Regions from separate parts of the Homo sapiens genome. Here region 1 is linked to region 2. The links are contacts of gene promoters, found by promoter capture Hi-C in human tissues and cell types (Jung and others, 2019). All regions are on one chromosome and are shown on one strand. Each heading gives the region's core, a stretch centred on a gene start or on the middle of the fragment in contact. The rest is flanking DNA. Distances are from core to core; before and after follow the strand shown. Region 1 overlaps SCN8A (sodium voltage-gated channel alpha subunit 8). Region 2 holds the start of SCN8A (sodium voltage-gated channel alpha subunit 8).

The links. Contacts are between HindIII fragments. The study calls those that stand out against the background at their distance.
Region 1: a fragment that was not itself captured here is called in contact with the fragment with the promoter of SCN8A in region 2 in 3 of the 25 tissues and cell types used here (IMR-90 fibroblasts, dorsolateral prefrontal cortex and small bowel).

Annotation. Positions count from the first base shown.
Region 1 is chr12:51,788,293-51,792,944 of GRCh38, reverse strand. SCN8A (sodium voltage-gated channel alpha subunit 8) reads right to left here. Exons shown (of 27, transcript NM_001330260.2): 23 at 4,197-4,250; 24 at 3,527-3,664; 25 at 2,443-2,547. Among named protein-coding and RNA genes, the nearest start is that of TMDD1, 24 kb to the left of the region's middle. The HindIII fragment of the contact is 7,053 bases long and covers 1-4,652 here.
Region 2 is chr12:51,589,063-51,593,300 of GRCh38, reverse strand. It overlaps SCN8A (sodium voltage-gated channel alpha subunit 8), which reads right to left and starts at 2,068. Exons shown (of 27, transcript NM_001330260.2): 1 at 1,942-2,068. RefSeq lists a silencer at 2,316-2,565. The HindIII fragment of the contact is 14,911 bases long and covers 1-4,238 here.

The DNA.
Region 1 (4,652 bases), core at 881-3,380, 200 kb before region 2:
ATGGTGAAACCTTGTCTCTACTAAAAATACAAAAATTAGCCGGGCATGGTGGCAGGCGCCTGTGGTCCCAGCTACTCGGGAGGCTGAGGCACGAGAATTGCTTGAACCTGGGAGGCAGAGGTTGCAGTGGGCCGAGATCACGCCACTGCACTCCAGCCTGGTTAACAGAGAGAGACTCTGTCTCAAAACATAAAACAAAAAACAAATGGATCACATCATTCCCCTACTTAAAACCTTTCAAGAGCTTCCCACTGGGCTTGCAACACAATCCCTATTTGTTAACCTGGCTTACGGGGAGACACCTGGCACAGTCTGACTCTGCTCATCAATGTCCCTCCTCTGGCTCGCCACCCCCTGGCCACACTGTTTTCTGCTTCTGGGGTCTTGTGTATTCTGCCAGGAATCTCTTTCCCCAGCTCTTTGGTTCCATCTTTTTTTTTTTTTTTTTTTTTTTTTGAGATAGGGTCTCGCTGTCTTCCCCAGGCTGGAGTGCAGTGGCATGATATAGCTTACCATATCCTCTGCAGCCCTGACTCCTGGACTCACGCCATCCTCTCACCTCAGCCTTCTCAGTAGCTGGGACTACAGGCATGCTACCAGGCTCGGCTAATTTTTTTTTTTTTTTTTGTACAGATGGGGTTTCACTGTGTTGCCCAGGCTGGTCTAGAACTCCTAGGCTCAAGCGATCTGCCTGCCTCTAGATCCCAAGTTGGGATTACAGTATGAGCTACCGTGCCCAGCCAGTTCCTTCTCATCCACTCAAGTAGACCCTCCTTAGTGAGGCTTTCTCTGACTACTATATTAAAGTAGATCCACCACTTATAGCCCTCTAGTTAATTTTTTTCCTACAATCTTCCACATTTTATTGTAGCTGTTTGCTTACTTATTTATTATCTATCTCCCCAACTATTATAAGCTCCATGACAGCAGTCTACCTTTTGTTCATCACATAATGCTTAGTGCACGGTACATAGTAAAGACTGATAAATATTTGCTAAATGAATGTTAATCACTCTTTATTAATGTTTCCTACTTTTTAAAATATTTTATTTTATTTTGTATTTTTTGAGACAGGGTCCCTCCCTATTGCCCAAGCTGGAGTACAGTGGCACGGTCATGGCTCACTGCAGTCTTGGCCTCCAAGCTCAAGCAATTCTCTTACCTCAGCCTCCTACGTAGTGAGGACCACAGGTACACATAACCACGCCCAGCTACTTTTTACAAAATTTTTTTGTAGAGATGGGGTCTCATTATGTTGCCTAGGCTGGAAGTTATATTTTAATGTGGAAGAAAATACACTCAGGTTCCCATATGGAAAGTACTAAACAGAACTTTAGAAATGTTAACCCTTTTCTATTCCCTTTAGTCCCATTTCTATCACAAAATGAAGGCTTAACATCAAGGAAATAAAAAACCCCAAATGTTCTCTTTCTTGAGATTCCTTGCTTTTTTGTTTGTTTGTTTGTTTGAAGTACTGAGATACTTGGGCTGGTGCTTATTTCCAGGATTACTTTAACTTGGTGGTTTTCAATCTGCCCTGCAAAGCCCTAGAATTTCTTTTCCTTCAAAAGTTGATGCGGTAGATGTACCACGTGCGGCGTGTGGGGGTGAGGGGAGAAAACGTTCTGGAACTATAACTCTTGATTCAAACATAGTCACTCTACTTTTATTTCTACAAATTAGATTATCAGGGAAGCTTTTGTATTAAAGGTTCTGCTGGGTTTTTTTGGTGGTGTTGTGTCTGTTTTTTAAAGTTGCTAAATGGAAGTTACAGAAGAAGGAACTTTGGGCCTGGCTTTTGGGGGTGATGTCCCATCCAACCGGATATATGGAATCAGGAGCAGGGTATCTCCTTCTCCTTCTCTGAAACAAGACAACCATCACCAATGGAACAATGGAGCAGAATCTCAGCCCCCTAATCTGTTTTATAAAAGGCTCAGCTCAAGAGAGGCAATCAGGGCACCAGACTCCCATAGTTTTACCCTCTTCTGCTCCCACAAATAACCAGAAGCATGATTTTAACTTCTAGATACATCCTGCAAAGACATCCTTATTGAGCAGAGAGAAGCTGAAAAAATTATGACCAAATCCTATCTTGAACTGGCAGGAAAGAGAGCAACTTTATTTCATTTTCTCTTGTTGACTTTTGGTTGTCTCTAAAAACATCTCTCTACTAGGGCCAAAGCCAATGTGGTTCACATGCTGATTCTTGGTGGCTGCCCAAGGAAGGCTCAGAGGATAGGTCGAGGATTGATGTAAAAGCCCCCATGCCTTAATCCCTGTTCTTCTGCTGTCCTATTCAGATCTTTTGGATGGGTGGTGAGGAGAGGATTAGGCACAAAGCAGCCAATCACTTACCTTTTTCCTTCCTTTGCAGTAACTCTACTAGTACTTTTCCTATATGGGTTCTCACCAAGGCCTCAGCCTGCACAATGCACTTACCAAGGGGCGGGGAATAGGTTTCTGTGGCTTCTTTGAGCCCAGCTTTTTCATGGCATTGTAGTACTTCTTCTGTTCTTCGGTCATGAAGATGTCCTGACCTCCGAAGTAAAGGAGGGAAGAAGAAAACAGACAATTACAACTGGCTCTCAACATGCTATGGGTTTGGACCTAAGGTTCAATACTGAGAACTGAGGGGAGACCTATCCCTTTCCTTTGTAGCTAATAGCTGTCCCAGAGTGGGGTAGACCCGCGATAATCATTCAGCTCTAAAGAGATACCTGCCTTTGTTTTTAGCTCAGGATTTCTAAGATCTTCCAGTCCCAAGGTAGAAAGGAAATGGACTATCCAATTATAGACCCTCAGAAAGGGTAAACTTGAGAGCAGTGACTCTGAAGGCAGTCATATCTCAGAGTCTCATTTTCTGGGGGCCAGCTTTCCTGATACATTCTAGAAAACACATTTTAGAATAAAAAGATCTTTGTGTCCTGGCTGATAGCCAATTTATTTTAGATGATACCCAAAATTTGGAAATTCTGGTGCAAGAAAGCAATTTGGAGGGTGTCTTGGAGTATGCTGGGATAGACTTGACTTACAAAATGAGCAACGAGCAATTTTTTCAATTTGCTTTGTAAAACTTGTTAACCATCTAGAACAAGTAAGGAAGTAAACTTTCCAAAGGTGGGTCTCTCAAATCCCAATTTGCTTGTGCTCAGAGATTGACTAGATAATCACAAGTCTAGACAGTTTCTACTTCTTGCGATAGCTATTCATCTGTTTCTTTCCTTTTCATCTCTGTTGCTCGACTGCACTCTCTGACCTACCTGCTTCTGGTGGGAGACCAAGACCAGTAATAGGCCTCAAGAATAAAAGACTGCTAGTAAGTGTGGTAAACTACATGCTGCAAAATCCAGCCCCGAACAGAAAGAGTGGGTTGGGGCTAACGTATGGGGGCCAGGGTCACAGTGAGCTAACAATATAGATTTTAGAGAAAGAAAGAGGGACATTTTCTTTCTAGAGATAGGGACAAAGGTGCCTCTTATCTGGGCTGACTTCCAACCACTGGCAATGAGGGGAGGAGACCTATCTTTTTCTTTTGTTGATTGAAGTTATCAATGATGACACCAATGAACAGGTTCAGGGTGAAGAAGGAGCCGAAGATGATGAAGATGACAAAATAGATGTACATGTAGATATTGTCCTCATACTTAGGCTGCTCATCAGGCTGTCAAAGGACAGGATAAAAGGAAGAGAATCAGCTCCTAGTTTGGAGTTTGACACGCCAAGGCCATCAGCCGTAACTGTGACCATTTGAGCTGCTAAACATCTTGGGGTGGGAGAGCCCTAGATTCTTTCTGCCTGCCTCCTTCTCTACACTGGCATGGCCTGCCTTGAGAGGACACTAGTCGTCCTCTGACTCATGTGGAGAACATGCAAATCATGAGGCCACAGGGAGGGAGGGCTGTCTGCTAGGAGCCATACTTTTGCTATGAAGCAGGATTGAAGCATAGACAGCTTCACTGGGGCCACGTAAAAAATCAACAGTCTAATCATCGGGGGCCAATGTAAGAGAGTGATGACTTACTGAGACGAGGAAAATGATCTATAATCAATAACACAAGCAATAAATGTTCCAAAGAGAAACGTCAACTCCTCCATTCCTTCATCCCTTCCTCTTTCTTGGTGGGCTCGGTATACCATGCTGCTTGCTTTCCAGCCATCTGAGAAGGTGGTATTTTCGCCATGTACATCCTTACCTTCCGGGAATCTACAGCTGCATACATGATGTCCATCCAGCCTTTGAAGGTTGCCTGGCAAACAGAGTCAGTCATTAGACGGTGCCTATAAAGGGAGTGGATGGGAGTCTAGGCAGGGGTCCCAAAGGCCAGGCTTAGGTTCAGTGAGAACACAGAACAGGGGTTTGGGTGCAGCCTCCCTTGGACACAGAATTTTCTGTTTGTTACTACAGGTCCCAGGAGGGCTTTGTTCCTGAAAATAACAACAAAGTTTGGCAAATAAACATGTTGAAAATGGTAATGGGATTAAGGCTTTACGAAAGGACTCAAAAACATGGGCCTGAGAAGCCTGCCTAAAGTTAGGGAAAACTTTTATGAGTGAATGGCAGGAATCTACTGAAAATGCTTGGAACTTAGCATTCCATTCCACTGAGGAATCATTTTTTAAAAAGGTGGTAAGCAAAAAAAAAAAAAAAA
Region 2 (4,238 bases), core at 819-3,318:
CCCTGAATCAGATGTTCAGAGAACACGGAACATGCTTGCAGCCCTCTCCAGGGAGGACCTCAATTTCTAGGACAGGGAATGCGTGCTGAACACCAAAGGATCACTACCCACAACCACCACCTCACCAACCAGCAACCAAATCCTCTTTCAGGGAGAAATGAAGGCCTTATGGGTCATGAGCTCCAAAGAAAAATGCTGCAGTATTTCAAGAACCAGGTTACATGTAATGTGCTATAAAGCTTTCAGCATTTTAAGTCTGATTCCCCCAAGATTCCTACCAGGATGGTACCGTGTGGTAATGTTATCCAGCCATTTGCATCACAAATCAAAAAAAAAATTTTTTTTGAGAAAAGAATAAAAGCACAACATCCCCCCCTCCACATCTTCTAATGCACGTGGAGAAAAGAGAAGTGCAGAGGGATTTTGAGACAGTGAAAAACCTACCACACCCGAAATCTCCATTGGAAAGCTAAAACATCCCCCAGCCCTAACACACTGCTACCTCTCTCTAAAGGCTCTCCAGGTTCAAACTTGGGAAAACAGTTATAAAAAGCACTCTCCCCCTTTACCCCCATGGCCCCCACCCACACTTCCTGCTTCCATCCCTGACTCTCTGGTGCCCACTGTGCATAAAAAGCAGTTTTCCTTGTGTGGCAGAGCTTGCTCCATGCTAATTATTTCTCCCTCCCCCTGACTTTAGCCAGATGCAATCCAAAGTTTCTTCTACCCTCCCCCCAAACAGATGACATCCATTTATTATGAACGCTGATGCAGAACCTTGGAATCTCCGGACATAAAATGTATTCCCTCATGCTTCAAAAACTGCAGTGTAAGTGAGGAAGAGGGCATAGGGTGGAGTAGTCGGATGGAATGCATGGTTTGAAGAATCCTATTTATCGGGCTGAAAAATGGTTCCCATTCCATCCCAACTCGAAGCTGGGGCCCCTGAAAGGGTCTGACAGTCCTGGCTAACCCCTGGAAAGTTAGCCAAGTCTCCACCGGTGGTTGTTGCTGGCAATGGAGGGGATGGAGCTGAGCTCTCAGGAGAAACTGCAGAGGCTTTGCGGTGCCCCAAGGTACCAAGTGAGAACTAGAGAGGAGGGTCCAAGCCCACGGAGCTGGGCAAACAGTCCTGTACCCCAACGCTAACAAGAAGCCAAGGGTGCTGCTGCTGATGGTAAGGTGGGGGAGGGAGAGGAGAGGAACAAGCTCTGCATCGGGTGGCGTGGGGGTGGGGGGTGGGGGTGGGGGTGGGATGGGGGAAGGGGATATTCTCAAAGTGATGTGCTTCCAAATGCAGGAATCCTCGCCTGCCGAGGAAGGTCCCGGGAGCCCCCATCACAACTCCAGAGCACCCTGTTGGGAGGGGGACGAACGCATCCGAGTAAAGGACAGAGGGAGTCGGGAGTGCTGGCTGCGGGAAGAACCCAGGAGCCCTTGGCTTCTGCAGTTTTTAGCAGTGTGAAGCCGGCTGAGGGAGAAGGATGCAGTAAGACATGGGGGAGGGGGAGGGCTGAGGGGCTGCTGTAGGAAGATCCCGACAGCGCTGCCCTTCCCAGTGCAAGCCGGCTAGGGGCCCCAACTCTGCCCGGCACTGAGGGAGGGATGGAGGGCTGCACCGCGGAAGGGGCACCAAGGACGGGCCGTGTCCCTCACTGTAGCCGAGACGGAGAAAGCAGGGTGTCCGGGGTGGGGACTGGTGGTCCTCAGTTCTCTTAAGAGACCCCCGGTACACACAGTAGAAGGAAGCAAGAGTTCCAAACACCTGTCCAAAACAAGGAGAGCAGAGCCCCAGCTCCACGGCCCCTGGAGCCCCGCCGCGCACTCTGCGGCAAAGCCCCTGACTGGAGATGGGCGAGCCCCGCTCAAGGGTCCCGAGGCGAGAAGGGAAACCCGGAGGGCAGGAAGCAGCGCTAGGGCGGGGGCTCTGGGGCGACTTACGGCAGCGGCGGCGGCGAGGGAGGCAGCGGCGGCCCTAACGCGGGGCCCGGGAGGCGCGGCCGGACTGCAAAGGCGCCGAGGATGCGGCGGGCGGGACTGCGGTGGGCGCCATCTTGGAGCGCTCCCCGCGCCCGCCCCCCGCACCGCCCGAGTCCTTGCATAATTGATGACTCGCGCCCGCCGCGCGCCACCGCGCGCGCGCCCCTACTGCCGGGCCCCCCGCCCGCCCCGCCCCCGCGCCTACCCCTCCGCGCGCGCCCCCTGCCCGGGCCGGCCCCGGCCCGCAAGCGCCGCTGCCACCGCCCCCGCCCCCTCCCTGCGCTTCGCGCCCGCCCGCCCGCGCCCCCGCGGCCCACCTACCCCTGCAGGGCGCGCCCGCTCGCCCGCTCGCCTGCAGCGCGCCGCCCGCCCGCAGGCTCTCAGACTCGCGTCTCCGCGCCGCCGGGAGCGGATCAGGGGCAAGAGGGAACAGGGCGCCGGCAGGGGGCGCCGCGCGGGAGCGCCAGCGAGCGTCCCCGGGCCCGCCTCCACTACGCCCCCGCCGAGCCGCCGGGAGGGGCCGCGGGCTGAGGACCGGGACCCGCCGCGAGACGCTGGCTGGCTGCTCGCCAGCGCCGGGCGGCGAGACCCGAAAGCTGTCGTGGTGACCCGCGTGCTCTGTGGCCCGCGTCAGTGCCAAGTCTTACCTTTCTCCTGCCCCCCAACAGTGCCGCGCTCAGTGAAGTTTCTGACATCCAAAAGCGCAGGGAACTCAATTTACAGGATCTTGGGCCCACTGAAAAAACGAGAAGTCAATCAGCGGCAGGTGGAGGCTCGTGTTTCAGCCCACAGGGACCTGCTGCCAGGAGCGGGGAGGCGCTGCCTCCCTGACAGCCCCCAGGCCACCTCAGTCTTTCCGATCCTCAGTCTGTCCATCTGTAAAGTAGGCATGAGCATTTCGACCGCTCACTCCACCCTCGCGAGGATCTAGGTAATGAGTGCCAGAGCTCTTGGCACTTTACTGTGTCTCTCCTCTACTTAATATTTTCCTACCACCAATCACAAGAGGGAAAAAGGGTGTAACAACCTCTCCAAACCTCAGTGTTCTCGTCTGTAAAAGGAAACAGTCACAGTAGCAACCTTATAAACTTCTTGTTTGTACTAACGGGGAGCATGCACTTCACACATTGCTAACACAGCCAGGCACATGGTATGCTTATCACATAATGTGCCCTCTACAATACATTTAAAATTAGCTTTACTGGGGTATATTTGCGTGTGTTTAGATTGTACAATTTTGAGTTATGTGTGCACTCATGAAACCATCACCACCAAGGTAATGAACACACCCATCACCTCCAAAAATTTCTCCGTGTGCTTCTTTGTAATCACTCCCTGCATCGCTCGCCCCCACACACCCTCTCCAGGCAACCACTGATCTTCTTTCTATTACTGTACATTGGTTTGCATTTTCCGGAATTTTAAATAAATGGAATCATACAGTACAAACTCTCTTTTTTGTATGGCTTCTTCCACTCGGCATAATCGTTTTGAGATTATTCAGTCGTTGCCTATCAAGAGTTCTTTTTTACTGCTTAGTAGTATTCTTTATGGGGATACACCACAATGTGTTTATCCAGTCACCTGTTGATGACATTTAGGTTATTTCCAATGTTTGTCCGTTACGAACAAAGCTGTTATGAGCTTTCGTGTGCAGGTCTTTGTATGGATATATATGCTTTCGTTTCTCGTGGGTATAAATATCTAGGAATGGAATAACTGAGTCCTGTCTTAGGTGTATATTTAACATATTAAGAAAGGGCCAAACTGCCTTCCAAAGTGGTTGTGCCTTTCCATTCCTACTAGCAGCACATGAATTTCAGTTGTTCTACATCCTCACCAACATTTGGAGTGATCAGTCTTTTTAATTTTAGCCATTTGAATAGATGTGTAGTTTTATCTCGCTGTGGGTCTGTCGTCCATTTCACTAGTGACTAAAGATGTTGAACATCTTTTCATGGACTTGTCATCTGTAAATCCTCCTGGCGAAGTGTCTCTTCAAGTCTTTAGCCTATTTAAAAATTGGTGGGGTTTTTTCTTGTTAATTGAGTTTTACGAGTTGTTTATATATCCTGGCTGGGCTCAGTGACGCATGCCTGGTGTCCCAGCTACTCTGGACACTGAGCAGGAATAATTGCTTAAACCTAGGATTTCAAGTCCAGCATGGACAACACAGGAGACTCTGATTCTAAAATTTTTTTAAAAAAATTAAAGAGTTGTTTATATATTGTGGATACAAATCTTCTGTCAGACATGTG